4 separate regions of the Homo sapiens genome follow, and all the other regions are linked to region 1. Evidence: promoter capture Hi-C in 16 types of primary human blood cells and fetal thymus (Javierre and others, 2016). All regions are on one chromosome and are shown on one strand. The core of a region is centred on a gene start or on the middle of the fragment in contact, and the rest is flanking DNA. Distances in the headings are between cores, read along the strand shown.

Region 1 (5,074 bases), core at 1,200-3,699:
CAAACTTTAAAATTCTAAGTCTTTGTGACCTAAGGTTCTCAAAAGAGCAGCTAGAATCAATACTGTTCTTGGATTAATGGCTCAAAGAAGTCATTATGTTTTGTTTCTTGATGCTGTAGATTTAACATCATATTGGTAGAGATGTGTAACTTCTTACATGGATTAGACATCAAGAAGCCAATGTGTACATATAAACTAAAAACTGAAAATGAATACATTCAGATATTAAATTATAAAACTGCATAACAAATACAAATTTGTTAATTTTCCACAAGGACTAAAACAACGCTATTAATAACGAGTAGTCTTTTTCATCACTCTCAAAACATCTTCCTCGTTTATTTCTCCATCTCTATCATGATCAGCTTCATCAAGCATTTCCTGTAAAACAAAATGTAAATATATGAAATACATTTAAAATGACATAAATGAAGTCAAACACATATTCAAAACCAAATTTTATTTTAAATGCATAAGTGCAACTAAAGTTAGAATTATAATCCTAAATTATCACATAAGTTATAATTACATATAAATTATAATTATAAAAATAAGCAAAATCTACCTGAAGTTCATCATGTTAAATTTTCCCCTGGTTTCTTAGCAAACCTCTTGATACCGGTTAGTATTATACTTCCAGTATCATCATCATCAAATAATTTGAAAGTCTTCAATATTTCTTCTTTTTCATCTTTTTTACTCTTTTAAAAAAGAAGCAACTATCCAGTCTTTCATTTATTTATTTTATCAAGCTGGACTTAATTAGATCTTTGGGGTCTAAAGCAGCAATGTGCCAAGTAGCTGTGTTCTGATTTTATTTATTGGTCTTTTAACAATTATGTACTCACACCTGCCCTCAAGGTGCTTAAAGGTAGAGCTTGCTAAGGTGGAGAAGGCACAGGGTGGTCCAGAATGCATCTCTTATTAAACCTCATAATTCAGATCCGTTACCAAAAATGTAAGCTTCAAAATGGAAGGTTGTATCTTTCAATGCTCCTTAGAATAGTGCCTGGCAAAAATAGGCATTCAATATATGTTGCTGAATTAAAGGCTTCCAAATTCTGGCCCCATTCTCTCTATCCTGCAATATAGCCTCATTATTTCCTGACAAAAACCTCTTCTCCACATCATAGTCTTCTCATTACTACCCTGAAAACATATTTAATCTTGCTCTTCCTATCTCCCATCCTTAAAAACCTAGTTCTAATTGCTTCTCTATAAAACTTCTGATTGCTCCAGCCCTAAAATGTAGCAGGTTATTGCTAGTATTTCTTTGAAAAATAAAATCATAACTATATCATTTTTATACTCATAATGGCAAAAAAAAATCTTCAAAACTAATGGTGCCAATTCCTTCTTTATCAACTTCAGCTACCATTTTTTAAATTTCTTCTTTCTTTGGTTCAAATCCTAAGGCCCACACTGCAATCTGAAATAGGAAGAAAAGGAATTATAATATGCCATGATTTCTTTCTAAGCTTTTTAACTCCCTATTAAGAGCTTCTCTCTTTTCTATTATGGACTGAGCATAAACAGAAAATTAGGTCAGCAGGCCTGTGTTTCAGTCCTACTGTGCCATCATGTACATCACTGTTACACCCTGGGCTTTTGCCTACTCATTTATAAAACACAATTAAAATGCTTAACAAGATATCGTTTTGCTAATGCAGGGCAGGCATATGCACTGAAGAGACTTTATATTAAGCTTTCAGAAGACTACTTTTAAAGAAAGCCTTAAAGATTGCCACAAATAATATGGTTTTTAAAATGATTTAGAATTAGAAATAATTTCAGAACCTTCTTTTACATCGATGGTTCCAGACCCATCAATATCAAATAAATTAAAGGCGTCTTTAATTTCTTGCTTTTGGGATTCATTCAGTTCAATTTTTGCTGCTCTTTTCTTCCATTGGTCTGAACTTGTATGGTAGTTAGATGCCTGTAATACACACACATATGGGTGAAAGATAAATTATATAACTGGAATAGTTAGCAGAACCAGAATAATTGATGATAAACTATATTAAAGTACCTATTTCCTACTATAAAATGAATCTCAACAGGAGTAAGGAAGGAGTGCAGTTGCTGCCAGGGGCAGCCTTCCTTGCTCTGGCGGAAAAACTTCGGCCCCGGCCCCAGCAGAAGGTTACAGCTTCACACTCACCAGGTCCCCAGCCGGCAGCCGGCGCTCTCAGCCGGGACCTCCCGGCGTCACCTCCCGCAGCCCCGCCCAACCCAAGTCTTCACAGCTCACTGGCGGTTGCTAAGGCCGCTCTCACCGACCTCTCTCAGCCCCGCCCACCCAGCCTGAGTTATTGACATCCAGTTCATCCAATGGACAGAAAAAAAGGCCTTTAAACCAGCCCTTTCTCTCTACTCCCTACCAATAGCGTGACGTCCCCGCCTTTCGCAGCCCGGCGTTAAGCGGAACTTCTCTCTCCAGCTGTGTCTCTTAGCAACTAAGCCCCCGGCTCCTCCAGAAGCCCCTCTTCGCACATGCGCAAACTGCGGACGGGGAACTGGGCTCCCTAGCCCTGGCGTTTTTGGTGTTGCTGTCCCAGCCAGAATCGCGTCTGGCCGGTGGGAAGCCGGGAACTCCAGCCCCCTGTAGGAGAGGAGAAAGGAGCGAGGTTAGTAGTGAGGTGCTTCCGCTGACTGCTAAGCTAAGTCTTTCCTGAAGACGTGGGAGCCCGTGTGTTTGATTTTTCTGTCCTCTTCGGGCCAGGGAAAGAATGAGAATCTAGGGCCTGGAGGTCCTGGGGTGAATTGGTCCAGCATGTGGCTAGGAGTACTAGAGGAAGAGGGGACTGCCCTTTCTTTTTGCCGCTAGACTTTCCTCATTTTCTACAGTGCCTGGAGCTGGGCCTTCAGCCATTTACCTCCTCCCTGTTTTGGGCAGGGATTCTGGCATGGTAGACACCAGAATTCTGTATAGCAGTGGCATGGGGTAACAGTGTCGTTGGAGGGACGTGGGTATTGGGATAAGCATGGGTCTTGGGATGTATTTAAAGCTTCACTACATACATAGATAAACGTTTTTACATGTTTCGTGTAGCATTTGTTTACGAGGTAGGACTTTGGCCCCACCCATAATTACTATCGGACCCCGCCCTCCAACCCCAACACACACACACACACACACACACACACACACACACACACACACACACATCCAGCCATTTCCTTGGCCCAGTCCTAAGATTTGGCCAGTTGTCAACGATATCAACTTGATCTGCACTTCAGAGTCAGACACAGGTAGTCTGATTATCCAGTTGATTCAGTAACGGCCTAGATTTAGATACTTGTGAAACTTTTGTAAACCAACTCAATCTCTTGTCCAGAGGGCCAGATTTACTGCTTCTGCCCGTTCTGAATTTGGCCAGGAATCAGCTTAAAGGACAGGGGAGAAAGACTGAGGTAGGATGGACCACTGACTTCCTGGTGGGAATGAAGGAATGAGAGAATCTTAAAACTTCTAACCTTTAATTGCTCACACATGCGGACCCCTTTTATGCCTCCTACAATGTCTTCTCTAGAGGAAATATTTTCTAAAAATTATACTGGATTCTTCAAAAATGGATTCAGGAAGAATACTAACTTTAGTCTTTTTTTTTTTTTTTTTTTTTTTGTCTCACTTATCTTCCTGAAGGCAGGAGAGGAAAACAAGTGCAAAGTGCATTCTTGAAGCACTCTGTCAAATCACTTTTCATGCTTCATTGAGTAGAAACATGGCACATTTTCCAAAGCCATCAGCCTGTCTTGTTCATATTATATCCCAGACAGACACGCAAGTATTGTAATCATTGATAAAAATCTCATTAGGCTTCTGGAAAATAGGTAAGTTTATCCTCATATTGCAGGTGATTTTTCCATATAAAGTTACCCAGTGAAAATTAAAATGGCACAAATCCAAGATAATTTTTGAGTTAAGTAAAATGTGGTCACTTTAATATATGATTTTTCACGTCATTTATCTCACTTGGAAAGTTGCTCTTGATCAGTTTCAAGGTCATACACTTTTTTTTTTTTGAGACCGAGTCCTGCTCTGTCGCCCAGGCTGGAGTGCAGTGGCTCAATCCCGGCTCACTGCAAGCTCCACCTCCCGGGTTCTCGCCGTTCTTCTGCCTCAGCCTCCCGAATAGCTGGGAGTACAGGCGCCCGCCACCGCGCCCGGCTAATTTTTTTGTATTTTTAGTAGAGACGGAGTTTCACCGTATTAGCCAGGATGGTCTCCATCTCCTGACTTCATGATCCGCTCGCCTCGGCCTCTCAAAGTGCTGGGATTACAGGCGTGAGCAACTGCGCCCGGCCATATACTTCATTTTTAATACTAATATTAAAAGGATTTCTTAGACCCAGAAATGAATAGTGACCAAGTATATACTCAACCCAATCCTAATTTCGAGGATCTCTTGGATCATGTTTGATCTAATGACAATTAAATGGCGGAGTAGTATATTAACCTATTTTTATATCACTATGATTTAGGCTTTTATATTTGGAATATTTACTGCTAGTTAAAATGTTTTTTTAATTGTAGGCTCAGATTCCAACTCCCAGATCTTGAATAGGATGTAATTAGTTTTGAAAACTAGCTATTAACGAATCTAACTGCACTTTAGAACATTAATCATCATCATTATCCAGGAAAACATTAAACACATAGGCACTCTTAAATCTCCCAAATGTATTTAATGTTTTCTATATGTCATGCACTATGCCAACTACTGGGTGAGTTCGAAAGAAATAAAAATAGAATATAAAAGATGAATAACTAAGGAATCTACAGATTAGTGGGGGAGCTAGACACAAACATAATACAATGTTTTTAATACAGGGTATTTTTAATCTGCTTTGGTAGATGGGTATAGAAAGTGCGTTGGGAGCACAGAAAGGAGGGACAACTCTACCCCAGGGCATTAGAGAAGTCCTGATAGGAAATGAGGCATTTGCGTTGGGTCATGAAAGATCTATAGCATCTATGGAGATGAAGAAAATATAGACTATTCAAATCAGTATAGCTTAGTGAAAATAAATATGTTCTAGCGTGACAAGATCATGAGGTTTATAAGGA
Region 2 (5,490 bases), core at 1,754-4,253, 1.5 Mb after region 1:
TTTTATACCTGTCTAATCAACCAATGTTCCATAGCCAAGGTAACAAGTAAAACTCAGAACTAGATTTAAATCTGTCCAATTGAGCAATGACAATTTGCTTCAGTGAACATGTCCCTGAAGACCAGTCAGTTAGTACTAACTCATGCCTTGAAAGTCACCCCACTGACAGTCAACTCACTCCAGCGAACATGTTTCTAAGGCTGACATGGAACAACTATTTTGAAAAATAATAAACTAGGCTTCTAAGATTGACAACCCACCCTGCCTCTACAATTAACACAAAATATGATTCTACAGCTGATATCAATCCATTCTTGCTCCCATATAAACACAACCTGAATCAATCTCAAGCTCTTCCCCAGCACCCTATGTAAAATTAGTAGTTTGCAATGCTCAGTGAGGCTTCATCTGATCAACGTAGCTCTTTTTTTTTTTTTCACTTCCATCAGCAATAAATCAAGCTTATTGATTTGAGTTTTGAATAGAGGTCTCTCTTTTTTTTTTTTTAACAATGTAGTTTTCTCCAACAGGGTAATATAGTATCTTTGACCAATAAATCTACCCAGCCCTTTTGTACGCCAGTTTCCTTTGTCCTTCAGATTTCCTGCCAGGTGCAACTGGTTCAACATGATCTCAACTCTAACTTATTTCATTGAGCTCTTATTACAAAATTTATGTTGTTATAATTTGTTGCTAAGTAGTATTAGTATATTAGATGCTTTGGTTTGGTGGTGCACTATTTGTTAAATATTTTTGCCACTAACATGCTGACTTCAGCGACTTGGCTTGCTTTTTATTTTTGTCTTTCTCTTAGTGAGAAAGATTTGTGTCATGGCTTTATATGGATTGTCTTGTTTCTGGTGACTTGAGTCAGGGAGTGGTTCCTAGAAAATGGATGGAGGTATCAGTTGGATAAACCTCCAATGTAGTCCAAACCAGCCTAAAAGTATCACTGTTGCAGCCCCATTATGCTACAGGTAATTTATACTGAGATGTTTGATCAAATTGTGTCTTGGCTCACCTCCAAAATCATGAAGAGACTTGCTGTCATGTCAATTTGTGTACAAGGTCACTCTACTTCACATTTCCAGGCCAGTGATTATTGGGTCATTGTTGCACCACCTCTTCCTGGCCTTGGCTTGGGTTGGGTAATGCAGAACATCATTTATAAAAACACAGATGTAACAGATTTTAGAGGTTCTTTTTTGTTTATTATGGGTTTGTCCAAATCAAAACTGCAACATCTTCCTGGCAAAATCTGTGAATCTTTCATAAATTTGTATTATATTCACAGCTGTTGTGTCTTCTTTGGTGAATGTTTTAAAAAATTTTTAATTTATCATTTTGAATAATTTTAATATTTCATAATTACATTTTTAAGAAATTCAGAAAAAGAAAAAATTAATAATATTAAATATGCAATTATCAGTATTTTAATTAATATCCAAAGCCACAAAACCAAACATTGACTCCAGAATAGCTTGTTTAAAAAACTCTCTAGTTCATTCCTGCTCAAATCTTCTGAAATATACTTTCCTTGAATTTCTTCTCTATGCTTACATCCTTTTGCTTCTTATTCTAACTGTTCACATGTGCTATCTTTTCCTCAGCATTTTTTTCTCAGAAAAAGAACAATTGCATTGCACAATATGCCCTTGAAATTATAAGACCAGAAGGCTCATCTATAGAAGCTGAATATAAACTTTGATCTAGAACCAATTTGGAGTTCATAAATTAAGTTTTCCTTTTGAACCTCAGGAATTTAGGCAGAAATTTTCTGAAAAAAAAAAATCAGAATTGCTTTAGGTGCCACCAGCTATGTATCAGCAAGTTAACAGTCATCCTCTCAGATAAGGAAATATAATAAGAATTAATAAGATGAAAAACACTAGGAAGAAATTTTAGTAACACAGCTGTGCATGATTTTAAAAATATTCTTGAAAGAGCAAAAAAAAAATATTTAAAATATATTTCATATATAAGGCCATTTCAGAATTCTCTCCCTTAAAGTAAATTGGACAAAGATCCAAAGTTATAAACAAAATAGAGCTGAATCAGAGGAGATTTTACAATTAGATGATACATTTTCAGATAATATTCTGAAGTAGATAGAAGAAACAAAGTAAATGGAGGGTTTTTTTTCTGTTTTCTTTTTTTTTTAATAACAAGGTTTACATCTAAAATTATAGTAGGAAACTGCTAGATGCACTCCAGCATTTGCTGACATTTTCAATGAGCCACAGGTAAAGTAAACAAGCTAAAAATTAAAATCAATTATGGCTACCAGCTAGATAGAACCACCAGCTCCCAAAACAAAAATAAAACCAAAAGATTCTCTGATCCTTAGAATTGAGAACCTAGGAAGAGACACAAGTAGAAATGACAAAAGAAGTACTGTTAGAAGAAAGAACGTTCCACACTTGCTAAGAAGTGGTGGGTGACTATCCAAACGCTGCCCTATGATTTCACTCCAAGGGAGAGACTAGTGTTCCACAATTCTGTTTTCTTCTAAACTCCCAAGGGGAAATATCTGTAAATTGAGATGGACATTAATACATCTTTCTCATTAATATGGGTGTTAAATATTTTATTAATCCAACTACCACAGAACATTAGAGTCCTCAAAACTAAACTTTCAAATTATCTAAAACTCATGAAATTAAGCAAATTGACTTTGGATGGCTCATAAACAACCGTAATAGTAATGGTGTAGTAATAATAAAATGGAACAAAATATAGTTTTGCTTAAAGTAAAAATGTATGCTTGGCCCAGAAGATAGTAAAAGAAAGCTTTGAATGTGTAGAGTAACAGGTAAAACCCTTCAGGAGAAGTAAACATTCTTTGCCTTGGTTTACATAAACCATTCAAATACTGAAAATTTTTACAATTCTAAATCCTTTTCTGCCAACATACAATTATTACTTTGAGATTGCTATTATGAGAACAACACAATTTTTTCCCTTACACAAACCCTGCAAATGTAATAAATAGGTAGGAGTCTACTTTTCAAATAGAATTACCAGATAAAATTTACTGCACAGGAGTTATTTTTAGAAGTTTCATATTATAGCTGATCTGGACATCAGTATACCTACACTATGTATAATTCAAGAAGCAACCAAAGAAGGGGCTCTGATCTCAGAGGCTCCACAGACAAAAGACAGAAAAAGTGGGAAACAGTTTATAAGAATCCAGATAAGTCTTTTCAGATTATTATAAGCTTTAATTTTTCCCAAGTTTTTTTACCTGATATTCCTACAATAGCCTAAGATATTATATACATGCAAAAAGCAAAGGCATATACTGATGATATCCTATATCTTGATGCAATATCCAAGGTTTTTTATTTGCCTCAGAATATCTGTAGCCTGAACTAATTGAAGCAGTTAAAACTACTTTTAAATATGAAGGTTCTACATGTAGTACAATCTCAATTGCTAGATGAAAGCACCAGATTAGTTCATTATTGATTATGAAAGCTTATAACTTTCCATTCATCTTAGCATCAACGTAACTTTTTAAATAAAAAAACTTTATTATTTTAATCAATGAAAAAGAAGCTCACAATTGTGTTTATCAAGTTTAAATGTCCATGTATAGAACAGATATTTTGGATAATCCTGTCTTCATCAGTTCCAGCTGCTATAACAAATTACCATAGACTGGATGGCTCATAAACAATGAAATTTATTTCTCAGAGTTCTGGAGGGTGGAAGTGCCATGATCAGGTGCCAGCATGGTCAAGTTCTGGTGAGGGTGATCTTCTGGGCTGCAGAGTACCCACTTCTTGTAGTGTCCTCATATCGTAGAAAAAGGGTGAGAGGCTCATTGGGGTCTCTCTTATAAGGGCATTAATCCCATTCATGAAGGTTCTACACTCATGACCCCTCAAAGGTCCCACCTCCTAATGCCTATGTTGAAATACGGGTGGACAAAATATATGAAACAACCATATTTTGATAATGGACAATATGAAGAGCAGGACTGTTATCCTTGAGAAAAGGGGAAGAAAAAAAGAGAGCCATGTTTTCCTTATATTTCCCCCTGGGGGCACCTATAACCATATTGTAGTGGAGGGCAAACCAAGCAGAGCACGTCACTCTCAGTGAGTTGAGGAGACAGTGACTGGCATTCAGGGAGGTTGCATTGGTGGGTGTTGCTAGGAGAGAGTAACACAGAGTAGGTGATTATGGAAAAGAGAGTTCAAAAAATCTGTAAGTTTCTCCTTGAAGCCTTGGCTAAATTCTAAGCAGCGTTTTGTCATATGAGACACCATGAAGCCAGGCAAAAAAACAACTAGCAGGGAAAGAACAACTACCAGAAAACTCTAAGTGCAATAATTACAATGGCTTTCAAAGGACTGAGTGATTATTGAGTTGAGTAGAAAAAGCTAGTTAAATACACAGGGTGTTCAGCAGACAGCCCCCAATGGTTACAATTTGATGCTAAATTAGTTCTGGAGTAAAGGCTGTTCCAGATATGCCCTAATAAAGCCTAACATTGAATCTTAGCCTCAAGCAGATCCACAAGTAACAAAACTGCCTGTAATATAAGGTTGAAGGAGAAGCATATCATACAAAAACTCTAATCTACAAAAGGAAATAAAAATATCCAAATGATAAATACAGCAAGGGTTTTATTTTAAAATTGTTAAAAAACAATTGACTCCATAAAGCAAAAATGAATGTAATGTATTGTGGATTTTATAAATTATATAGCTATAAAGGTTTATGACAACATTAGCATAAAGGAAAGAAATGATTTATGAATACTGTTGGAAGTTTCCACATTATAGATGAAAGAATAAAACATAATTTGAAGATGGACTACCAAGTTAAAGATTAATATTATAAATTCTAGAGTAATCACTAAGATAATAAAACATCGTAGCTAATGACTCAATAGAGAAGATAAAAGAGAAAACTAAAAACACTCAATCCGAAAGTACTCAGAAAAATAGAAAAAGAAAAAGAAAAAAATAATGTATATGATAAGTGAAAAAGCAGCAGCAAAATAGTATGGTTAATCCCAATCATATTAGTAATTATATTAAGCATAAATGGTCTTAATTCTGAAATTATAAGGCAGAAATTTTTAGCTGGTTATAAAAATACAAGATATAACTATACACCATCTATAAGAAACATATTTGAAATATTGTTTAAAGACTCAGATAGGTTAAAAGTAAAAGCCTGGTTAAAAAAAAAAAGAGACATACATACACTAGACATACAAAGGTGAAGTAGTTATATTATATCCGACACTGTGGGTTTCAGGATAAGAAGTACCTGACACAAAGAGATATATTTCATGATGATAAAAAGTTCAGTTCATCAAGACAAACCAACAGTCTTAAAAAGACATGAACCCAATAGCAGAGCTTCAAAATACATGAAAGAAAAAATGTATTTAGACATAAATGAAAGGGCATATAGAAGGATCCACAATTATGGTTGGAGATTTCAACACTCTCCTCTCAGCAGCTGATG
Region 3 (5,675 bases), core at 264-2,763, 1.6 Mb before region 1:
TTAGCCTTAGGGAAAATCAGAGGCAGCAAATATGCCCATCCCTTGGTACTGACTCCCAGAGATGATGAATCAGTAGGCTGGAGGGTATGGTTTGAGAATTTGCATTTCTCAGAAGCTGGTGCTGCTGGTCCCAGGTGATGTTTTGAGTAACATTCTACTATATAACTATGGCATGCCTCCAACAAGAGAGAGGGACATCCACAGAAATGAAAGCCCATGCAGATTCATTATCTGTTAGCTCTGTTGCGTTGCTCTTCTGCCCTGGCCTAGCCACAGTCCTGTTTATTTTCTGTTAAAACATTCATTAACTCACTACCGAGTGGAGAGAGTGCCCTGCTTTCTTGACATCCAGTATAAGTTGATGCTTTTAGCATGACATGAGGAGAGGAAAGAAAGAAGTAATACCTGTATTCACCAGAACGATTATCATCTTTAGTCATTAGCTCATGATGGGCATATCATTACATTATGTTTGGTAATATCATATGAAAGACATTGCCTCTATTTTGAAGACCTTTGGTTCATGATAAGTTCAATAAAAATTACTTCCAAATATTGTGACAGAACACTTCTCATCCTGGTGTGGCCTCAGAGACCATAAAATGACTACTTGCTCATTATCAAATGAGTCCTCTGTACAAATAGAAAAGGTTCATTTTCAGAGATCTAAGAATAATTTGCTTCTGTATTTCTTTAGTAACTTCAACAGTGTCTATTTGGTGATATTAGTGGTAACTTACTCCACTGCATTACTATATAATATGGTCATAAAGGTAGGAAAAGAAAAGCAAATGTGTGGTTTTGAGTATGTGAATAGGCTGGGAATTTCCTAATAGAATGTCTTAGAATACACAAATACTGTCTAGCCTGATATGAATATCATTTTTTTTCAGGAAGTTGTAAGAGAAAAAAAGAGCTTTTTTCATCCTTCAGGGAGAATTTAAAGAAGCAACAAAAGTAGTTTAATAATTTATGTTTTTTGAGGATTTGTGTTAAGCTCTAGGAAGTGTCAGAATAGTTCAATTTTTTTTTTTCAATTGGTGAATAGTAGTAAAGAGAATCTAGGGTGGGGTGGGCCAAATGGATTATGGCAATGGAATATGCTGGTTCCTTATCCTACACCTGGGAATAGACTACTTTTGTAGATCTTGTTATTTGAATTTTCTGATCTACTTTTCATGCTATTTGGGATCCTAGAAATTTTGTAAATGAGTCATAAATGAAAGATGAGTCTAATAGATATTTATTCCATTTTGGGCTTTCCCAACTTCCTTGAACAAACACCTATAACCTATTCTAGAATATTTACGATTAGTATGGATATCCTAAACAGATCTACTGAGATGTTAGACAAATCAATTTTGCCCACGGGTGGCACGAGCTGAGTAGCCTTAGGTAATTGTTTTCACTTTGGTTAAACATCTGGCTTCAGGAGCCTGATAAAAACAAACTCCTAGGTATATTTCCCCATTTTCTTCAATGCAAATAAATTGAATAGAGTACACATAATTGTGTGAACTTCTAAAAACAGTATGTTAATTACAAGGCTGACATATTACAAATTTTTTCTGAGTGAATGGGTCAGCAAGCATTCAGCTTGTACATAGAGGGTAGGCCCTGGATTCCATGCTGTGATGGATGGTGTGCAAAATCAGCTACCAAAATCAACATTTTGAGTAACTTTTGTTTATCACATTGGTAAGAAGGAAAAGAAAAATATTCATTGTAAAATAGAAGAACAATAATATCTTACATTAGGTACCAAAACCCATCTTAAATAAGACAAAAATCTACTGTCATAACTCATCACTTTATATCTATACTTTTAAGGGACAGCTTAAAGTATAGATGTGGGATGAAGTCTTTTCTGGCTTTAAGCATCCTTTTATTTTTTGCTCACTACCCATAAGTAATGCATTATGCCTGTTAAAGCATGAATTCTGGGTCCAGAATTGTCTACCAAACATATTATATACTAGCTAATTAAATTCATCCATTCACCCATTCAATAAATATTTAAGAACTTACTCTGAGCAAAGTCCTGTTCTAAGTATTCAAGATAAAGCAGTGAACAAAACAGAAAAAATTCAGAACCACATTATGACATTGCCTGAGTCCCTCCCTCCCTAAAAATACATGTTAAAATGATATTTTACAAATGTGTTGTTATAAAGATGGATACATAATATATGAAAATGTGTTTTCAACCCCAAAGTTTATTTTTTCTTCTAATTTTAAGAGAAATTAAACATAAACATACTTATGGGTCCCTAACAGTACTGTAGGCCTGGCCACTGTGCCTCTGGTGCCTAATGGAGGAGTTGGCACAAAAATCCTACCTTCATGGAACTAACAACCAAGATTAGTAGCTAGAAAACAAATAAAGTCATAAAAGTTAGACATTATATATACATTAGATAGTAATAAATTCCAAGGAAAAATTAAACCGGGAAATACCAGTAGTATAGTATGTAATTTTAATTAGGACAGCCAGAAAAGTCATCTTTGAGAGGTGACATTTGTATAAAGATCTGATTTTACTCAAATTATTTTTTCTCATTGAGATTTTATAATTGTAAAATCATAAAATTTTAAAATGTAAAATTTCGTGTAGAATTATTAAATTATATAATCACCGGAATGATGAAAAATTGTATTTTTCTAACTTGAAACAATTTTCTGTGAACTACAAATATGGATACACAAACATGAAGAGTGCACATGGACATGAGCAAAACTACAGCATTCTTGGCTGTTCTAATATCTACAAGGTTTATATCTTTGTGTCTACATTTAGGGAAATTAACTAGACAATGTAAGAAAACTTGTAATACGGTATCAAAAATGGGAGGATTTTAAATATAATCTCAATTATTTATAGTTCCTTTAATGCATTTGTGCAACATTTTCTGGAAAAGAAAAAAAGGGAAAAGATAGATTTTGCCCCGCATTTGTATGTCTGAGCATGGTTTTTCTGTCTTAGAGGATAAAGTATATTGTTTATGAAGTTTATCCTCATTTTCCCATTTTCTCCTGAAGAATAACTTGTCCCACACACAGATCTACTACAGGATCACATTTGCAAAGCATCCTATCAACTATGCAGGCACATACTTAATACTTTGAGGATCTTTAAATAACATCTCTGAACACCAGTTAACTACAATCATGGGCATGTGGTCCAAAATACAGGGTTTGAGCACCTGTTTCAAGTCCAATCACCTACTCTTGTTTCAGAAGACAATTTCTGTTGCTTTTATCATGAAATATCTAGTTGAGAGAGGCATATCTCAACTCAACCATGTGCTAGCGCATTCCTATGTTCCACATATGGGTTGGCTCTTGGAAAAGTCAACAGTATAGGATTATTTTTCCTGAACTAGTTAGCGACCCATTCCTCCAAAACATGAATGAACTAGTCCATAAAACAACACACACACACACACACACACCCCTGCATGCACACACGCACACTTTTCCTCTCTCTGACTTTAAAGTAGGTTTAAAGTAGGTTTTAGGCTTGCACTTGAGAGAGCTATCATCTCAGCCTTGGATTCTGCATTTAGCATGCTTCCTTAGAGTGTGTTTCACACCCAACTCCATAGTGATCATTTTAAAGAGCAGTTTGTTTCCTGAGGAAGCTTTTGCGGTTGACCAAGAGATACGTTATTGTTCGCAAACACCCACTTGCTTTATGTGGTTCTTCAAACTAAGAAATGTTCTTACTGTCTCTGTAATTCCTCCTCATTTCTCTTTCTCATGATGAATCTTTGTAGGGACAAAAATTCTCTAAAGCCTCCTTAGCCAAGTATGACTGAAAGCTGCAGCTAGGAGTGATTTATAAAATCACAGATAATTTCTTGTGCAAGCCTCCAAGGCTGGGACCCACACTGCAGCCTAGATTTTGTTGCGACTGTCAGTAAGAATGTTTTATGCAGGGACTTCTCATTTTAATCTCCCATGCTTGACCTGACTGATACCTTATTGAGGCGTTTTATTTCACATTCGTAATGTTCCTTTTCCTTGTTCGCAAGAGTATTTTTTCCCTTTAAAAGTTTATTCTCTTCTTTCAATTCATGTAATTCTTCATTTAGGCGTTCCTTTTCCTTCTGAAGTTAAGACCAAGAAAAGAAAATAAAAGTCAGTACAAGTCAAATGAGATGATATTGTAGGAATTCTGATATATCAGCCATGGCAGGCAGATTGAGGGGTCACCCTTCTGAAATACAATAAAAACAGGACCTGCAAGACTTTAAACTTAATGTTCCATTTGAGCAATATTCTTTGGATGCACACTAGAATTAGGATTGAAGGAATCTTTCTTTTATCAGAATTTACTGAAGTATCTTAGAAATTTTGTGACCCCAGGAAAAAAAAAATCAAAATTCCCAATTCTTTTTTTTTTTTTTAAAGACGAATTCTCACACTGTCTCCCGGCCTGGAGTGCAATGGTGTGATCTCAGCTCACTGCAACCTCCGCCTCCCAGGTTCAAGCAATTCTCCTGCCTCAGCCTCCCTAGTAGCTGGGATTATAGGTGCCTGCCACCACGCCCGGCTAATTTTTTATATTTTTTAGTAGAGATGGGGTTTCACTATGTTGGCCAGGCTGGTCTCAAACTCCTGACCTCGTGATCTGCCCGTCTCAGCCTCCCAAAGTGCTGGATTCCCAATTCTTACTTTCAATTATCAGACAAATGGGTCTGCAGGATAAGCAAGTCCTTATATACTGTCACTAGGTGATGGATAAGTGATTAAGAAAAATAGCTGAAAGTCTTAAAAAGAAAAAACTCTCATTGTGAGAAAACAATACTAAATATCTCAAAGCTCATTCCTGCATCATTCTGTATTAGAAAGAGGGAAAAGAGAATAATCCTTAGGCCAATAAGACCTTTCATTACAGATCATTATTTAGAGCACTCTATTGTTGTGATTATTATTTTTAAAAGGTAGAAATCAACTAGTCCAACTGCCACCACTCCTCCAATTTTAGATGACAATCTAAAATTGTCATCCAGAAGTGCAGTGTTTTAAACAACTGAAGGTTAGCTGCGTAAACATCAACAGGCTCTGGATTCAGACAATATCTCCTACCTCTTAATTTTGTATAATAGATAGCAAACATTTTGTGAAGTAAATTGGATTCTTAATGAGATTGAGATTTTAACCCAGTAAAATAAATATTGCAGAAAATAGGTAACTTGACATGCAAAAATAGCTAATATATGTGTTAAAGTGTGTTATTTGAGTAACTAATATTTCCCAATATGATTATTAAATTTAAGAAATCCGCTTTAGGTAATTCATTTTCTTTAAAAGGGAAAATATTTCTATTTGCTTTTATTTAAATAGAATGAACATATACACTTAGAAAATAAGCCAATTATTTTCTAATTTAGCATAATTTAAGAGAAAATTATTCCAATAAGATAATGGTCCCAACTGCATTGAGGGAAAAATTACTCAGATTCCTGGCTAGAGTGTAATTGGAAAAGGAAATGACTGCTACATGGCAGAAAGGGAGTGTTGCTAAACTCTGTTTTCCTGACTCACTGTGACAAAGACATCCTCAGCAAGATAGGAAAACCTGGACTGGCATTGTCTGCGCGAATTTCAGACATTGCCTTAAGATTTGTACATGTTTTAAAATATTGCCATTGCCTCACGATATCAGTGAT
Region 4 (5,603 bases), core at 3,104-5,603, 2.0 Mb after region 1:
AAAAGATAATAGATTTGCCTTTAGTTTTATTGGACTAAATTTACATATTAAAGAGTCTACAAGAATATCACACCTCTCAAAGATACATCCCTTTGGCTGACTTTAATAAATTCCTCCCATATTTGAATTCTGTACCATCCCTAACTCTCATTCTAGAATACCACTCCCTCTATCACTATATGGGTAATCTGAAAACCACACTCAAACCACACTGTGACACAACTCCTGTTCTCCAGCTTTGCCATACATAACCTTCTAAACCCCTCCTCTTCCCATCAAGTCCCCCAGAGAATTTCTAAGATTACTAACACATACACACACACACACACACACACACACACATACACACACACACATTTAAAATCTCAGCCCTGCCATTTACTAGTCTGTAACCTTGAACAATTTATTTAGCCTCTCTGTACCTTAGTTTCCTCATCTATAAAATGGGAGTAGTAACTACCTCACAGGATTATTATGAGGATTAAATGATCTAATATTTGTAAAGCACTTAGAATAATGACTGACACTTACTGTTTACTGTAATTACTATTAAATATTTTCAATATTACTTTCAAAATGTATAGATTTCACCCCATTAGATTTGAGGATATCATAAAAACAAACATCACTCTTTTTAGAGTGATTCAAATCTCTCCTAGAAACACACTCAAGCAGAAGAGAGCCACACACACACACACACACAAACCTCCAGTGCACAGTATACCAGAATCTTTGGAGAACAAACTTTTGCCCGCTAAGAATGTTATTGTAGAGAAAAAGCTTATGGCAAAATGGGTAATTCAAGCAGAAGTGAAGCACAAACTAACAATTTGCCTGCTACTTTTACAATGAGCAGAGGCATGATATGCAAAAAAAAATGTTTTCAAGGAATTATATTTTCTTGAACAGATTTGAATCTGAAACCACTCTGGAAAGCAACTTGCTCACTTCCTGGACCAATCCATTTACCATGGAAAAAAAGCTTTGCTGAAGTTAGGAAAAAACACTTTCTTTGTACCACTCACTAAAAGTAAAAGTAGTAAGATGATCCCAAATGTTCGCTATTTTATAAATTCACATACTTCTAAATACCAGTTTTTCAATTAGTTAGTTAATAGGAGAATAAATCCCAAAACTCATCAGCAAATTTTCTTCAGATTCTCAGTGGCCAATAATCTCCTTTAAAGAAAACCTTTCTTACTTAAAAAAATACTACTACTATAAGGAAAAAAATAAAAAGATACTAGATGCTATACTGATAATTACTCTAAGTTCAGTTCACCCTCTGAAAATGTAACCTATTTCCAGACAGCTAAATGTGCTTCTCTACCATAAGAACAAATTTCCCTTACCATTTATAGGCAATGTAAGTAACATTATGTTATTAAGTAAAATTAAGATACACTTTTAATCCATTTTAATCCATATGCTGTGCAATACCAAAACCTAAATTTTACTTCCTTTGATATTCAAAGTAAACAGGTATACTCATAACTTCAGATTAAGGCCAAATGTACAGCACCAGTAAAAGTAACCCACAAAGTTAAAACAAAAAACTACAACTAAAAATTAATTTAATTTCAGCATAGAAATCTGAACACCATGACATTTTTATTGTTACCTTTTAAATGCTTCGGCTGGGTTTCTCTCGCACTCCCCAGGCTGTAAGAGGCTTTGGACTGCTGGATCCCTTAGCTTGTCCTCATATCCTTGGAGTAGTCCACTGCGGCAGATCTGGGCTACTAGACCTCTAATAAACCCTCCAACACACAAAGTATCAGAGTCCTGGGCTTTGCAGAAATGAAAGGCCAAAGCTTGGCGATGTAAACCTCTCTGCAAACTTGCAGGTGAACTTGGCCATAAGAGTTCAGTACATAGGGCCGTCTTGCCACTGCCAGGCCCTCCTACCAACAACACACCCCAGGCAGCTCCCTTTCCAGAGACACCACTAGCATTATTCCCAGAATTCATTACAAGTGATGGTGCATTGACAGCACTATTGCAGCAGTTACTTTTCTCCTGGAGGCAATGCTGAAGCTTGTGGAAAACCCACTCCCTACAGTAAAACTGCTTCCCTTGCAGTAAACTGGTTTGAGCCATTTTGCAGACTTTCTCTTCCCAAGGATTAGTCATAACGGGTTTTTTATCTTCATTTGCTAGAGTCTGGATACATCAACACAGGTCTTTCCATCCATTATGACATAACTTGTATATTAAGTTGACTCTGAAGACAGAGTAACTAGTTACAGTAAAATTCAACAGCCACAGAGTTCCTCTGTCAACAGAACGTGCATGACTTTATTTGGTTCCTTATTCTTGATCAGCAGTCTATGTATTAGTTGTTGAACTGAGGGAGAAACGCCTGATTCCACAGCTCAGCAACACTTTTCCTAAATTTTAATGAGTCACATAACTCCATGGTTATAACTGGAGTTTATGTGATTGTGGATGTTTCAAGAACAGAGATGAGACAATACATGTGGAAAACTAAAGAAAAAACCCAATCTTTCAATTTGTACAAAATGCTTCTCCAGATTCCAAGTGTTAATTCTGCATCTGACAATTAGATTCTGAAAAGAGGTCCACTGCATTAAATGGCATCAGAGAGATTACATTTATACGGTATGAGGTACAGTATGTAAGTAGCTCTGTATTTCTCGTTGAAGGATGATCACTCAAGAGTACTAGATCGTGCCAGTTTCAGGCATCTGGGCAACTGCCAGGAACTGTTTCAGATTATAGTCTCTTATGTGGCAGAAATGACAACCACTGTTAACACCTTCTTAATTCAAAGCATTCATAATATGCATTTTTCAAGACAGCAGATTCTTAATGAACCTGTTCACAGGTTTCTTGGTTTTAAGACGTCCGGGTAATCAACAATTTCCACAAGTAACTAAAATAAAACAAACAAAAATACCTCAGTGCAAAATATCATATGTTAAAAACTTATTAAGGACAATAAAGGTTGCAGTGTACCAGTTAACGTAATCTCAAAAATCCACGTACTTCACCTTTGGCACTTTCAAAAAGTTGGACAAAAACCACTGAAATAATCACATTCTCCCTTCTGCATTTTTCTTCCTCATTGTTATGCTTCCCAAACAGCCACATTTTAATCAAGTTACCCAAGATTTTTGCAACTTCACCATAGCAAAGGAGGGGGGGAGAAACTTTACGCACATACAGTAACACCCTTAACTCCAGGCAAAACGCTCATTCACAGTAGACTGGTAGAACAGCGCCAGCTAAGGAAGCTCTATTAACTTACACAGTCCAGTCAGTCAAGGACTGTCTACTCCTCCAGCCACACTTCTTTGTTGATAATGTGCAAAAATCTAGGGGAAGATTACCAGGGTTGCAGCTGGATGGGAAACGGTTTAAAAAAAAAAAACAAAAACGATGGGGGATGACTGTTCTTATAAGAATGATAAAGCAAACACAAGTAAAATGTGAATCCTTCCTTCCTCTGGGCCAAGGATGGAGGTCAGGGATAAAATCTACCAGTCTGGCCGGAGAAAAGGCTGCTAGAGAGAAATTCCTTCCAAGACAGGAAAGGGATAAAGAGTAGAGTGCTTCGGTGCTGGTGGGTGTCTGCCCACAGGTCCGGCCTCCAGTTTCAGCTGACAGACAAAAGGAACTCCGGGATTCCCAGCGCCGGGCACCACCTTGGGTTGGAACCGCCCAGAGGAGCCACAGGGGAGCCACCTCAGAGAGGCCACGAGCGAAGGTGCAGCCTCCACACCGAGGTCTGCCCTTCCAGAGGCTGGGAGCGCCTCTGCACCCCGCCCCGCACCGAGATTGGGGTGTGTCTTTTGAAGGGGGAGGGGGTGACTGAGGTCCTTGCCAATCCCAGACGAGGGGTCGCCTCCCGGTCGGCTTCCGCCTCTGCGCTCCCGCCCCATGCCCCGCTCCCGCTCCCACCCGGCCGACGGCGGTGCGAGGGAAGAGGGCAAATCTGGGGCTCGAGGCCGGAGAGGGTGGGTGGTTGGGTCAGGTCCAAGCCACGGCCTCGGCCTCCCAGCTTCCAACCCGAGGGAGGGGCCTCGCTTCCACCGCCGCCGCCGCCCCCCGGTTACCTCGGCCCCAGCCGCCGCCGTGGCCGCCGCTGCCGCTGTTAGGGACTCTCAGTCTCAGACACTTGCTTCGCTGAGAAGTCGCTGCCAGCAGCGCTCCCAAGACTCCACTCCAACTGCAGCCGCCTCCTCCGCCGGGCCCGGGGCACGCTCCCAGCTCCGGATCCTCCTCTTGGCCCCCGGCGGCTGCCAGTTCCAGCTTTCCCAGCAGAATCGGTCGTGCTCGCCCCAGCCCCCACCGGCCAACCGCCGCCGCCGCCGCCGTCAGGGCAGTAACTGTCTCAGGCAGCCCCCGGCCGGCCGGCTCCGCCCCGCCCGCCCAGCCCAGACCCCGCCCCCGCCCCCGCCCCCGCCCCGCCGCTCGGCCTTTCTTTGCCCGCCGGCTCCGCCTCCGCGTCCTTCCCCTCCCCCACCGCGCTCTCCCGCAGCATCCCGTGCCTGGGCGTGTGCGGCCGCCTGGGACCCGCTGCCGGCGCGGCGGGGAGACCTGTCTCGGGGCGGCGTGGGGGCCCCGCCTTTCTCAGGGGAGGCGGAGAACGGGGCGGGGGCTGCGTTCTCACGTCTCCGAGCTCACGCGAGTCGTTGCCCCCACCCTCCCCGTCACCACTGGGCCCTGATCCTTCCTTTGTCTTCCAGGCCGGAGGGACTCGCCGGCTGTTGGTGCCGTATCTGCTCCTGGGAGGGGCAGTTGGGTAGGGGGAGATTGCCTCTTGCCTCTCTCTGCTCAACCCTTTTGCCTCTCCCTTAACCCCGTTGCTTCCAAAGCCACTTCGGGCCCCGTTCTACCCCTCAGTCGTCCGGTCTCCTTTCAGTCCATTAAATTCCAGGGATGCTTTTACTTTGGCTGGGACGAAGAGAAGGAAGGAAAAGACTGGGAAGAATGTTGCGAAAATAGAAATAGTGGGGGTATACAGCGACATTCCTACCAGCCTCATGAAAAGGACGTGGCCTCCATCAGATGGAGGTTGACAGCAGGCTTGACTGGGTCTCAGGCCCCTGCTCCTCAGGGCCACTTGATCACCCGCAGCGTCCACTAGGGGGGAAGGTCTTGGTCATGTGGCGTCAGGAAATGCCCTAGAGGGCCTGCTCACAGGGGCCTGTTGGACTAAGCATGTCAGTTGTTTGCACTTACTGGACCTGAGTTGCTTAGATTCCAAATTTCTCCCGGGAAAATAAGTATACCGTCAACTGATGGAATAGGAAATGTAGCATTTTTTATTTTAATTGTTTATGCTAAAATCCAGAGTGCTCTATTTCCCATTCCTCATTAACTTGCATGTGGTTATTTGCCAAAATATTAAGCCAGTCTCCCATCTAGTTTTAGAAATTTCATAGTATAGCTATCACAATAAGAAAGATGGATAAACAAATAGATCGTGTTTGTGCTTACTCTTTCATATTGTTTATTCGTGCCAATTGAGGTTTACTGATCTTAGTATTTAATTTTAATTCATGTACCCTGAATTTTGGGCTTCTTTCCTAAAACACAAGCAAAAGAGGCAGAGTATAAATTCTCCAGAATTAGGG

What was found. Contacts are between HindIII fragments. The CHiCAGO score rates a contact against its expected background, and 5 or more counts as called.
Region 2: a contact is called between a fragment that was not itself captured here and the fragment with the promoter of BBS12 in region 1, in 1 of 17 cell types (fetal thymus). The highest score is 5.7, in fetal thymus.
Region 3: a contact is called between a fragment that was not itself captured here and the fragment with the promoter of BBS12 in region 1, in 1 of 17 cell types (non-activated CD4 T cells). The highest score is 6.0, in non-activated CD4 T cells.
Region 4: the fragment with the promoter of ANKRD50 here is called in contact with the fragment with the promoter of BBS12 in region 1 in 1 of 17 cell types (fetal thymus); the score reaches 6.7 in fetal thymus.

The regions. Positions count from the first base shown.
Region 1 is chr4:122,730,255-122,735,328 of GRCh38, forward strand. It overlaps BBS12 (Bardet-Biedl syndrome 12), which reads left to right and starts at 2,450. Exons shown (of 2, transcript NM_152618.3): 1 at 2,450-2,630. It also overlaps the pseudogene CETN4P. RefSeq lists a silencer at 2,120-2,339 and an enhancer at 2,700-2,909. The HindIII fragment of the contact is 1,306 bases long and covers 1,704-3,009 here.
Region 2 is chr4:124,252,155-124,257,644 of GRCh38, forward strand. All of the region lies in intron 3 of LOC105377406 (a long non-coding RNA gene), which reads left to right. It overlaps LOC105377407 (a long non-coding RNA gene), which reads right to left and starts at 26. Exons shown (of 5, transcript XR_939176.3): 1 at 1-26. The HindIII fragment of the contact is 431 bases long and covers 2,789-3,219 here.
Region 3 is chr4:121,150,571-121,156,245 of GRCh38, forward strand. It overlaps TNIP3 (TNFAIP3 interacting protein 3), which reads right to left. Exons shown (of 11, transcript NM_024873.6): 5 at 3,981-4,109. Among named protein-coding and RNA genes, the nearest start is that of TNIP3, 11 kb to the right of the region's middle. RefSeq lists an enhancer at 5,384-5,675. The HindIII fragment of the contact is 4,252 bases long and covers 1-3,639 here.
Region 4 is chr4:124,708,379-124,713,981 of GRCh38, forward strand. ANKRD50 (ankyrin repeat domain containing 50) reads right to left here and starts at 4,354. Exons shown (of 5, transcript NM_020337.3): 1 at 4,080-4,354; 2 at 1,622-2,896. The coding sequence starts at 2,133. RefSeq lists enhancers at 3,762-4,327, 4,328-4,893 and silencers at 3,841-4,080, 4,231-4,610. The HindIII fragment of the contact is 8,904 bases long and covers 2,036-5,603 here.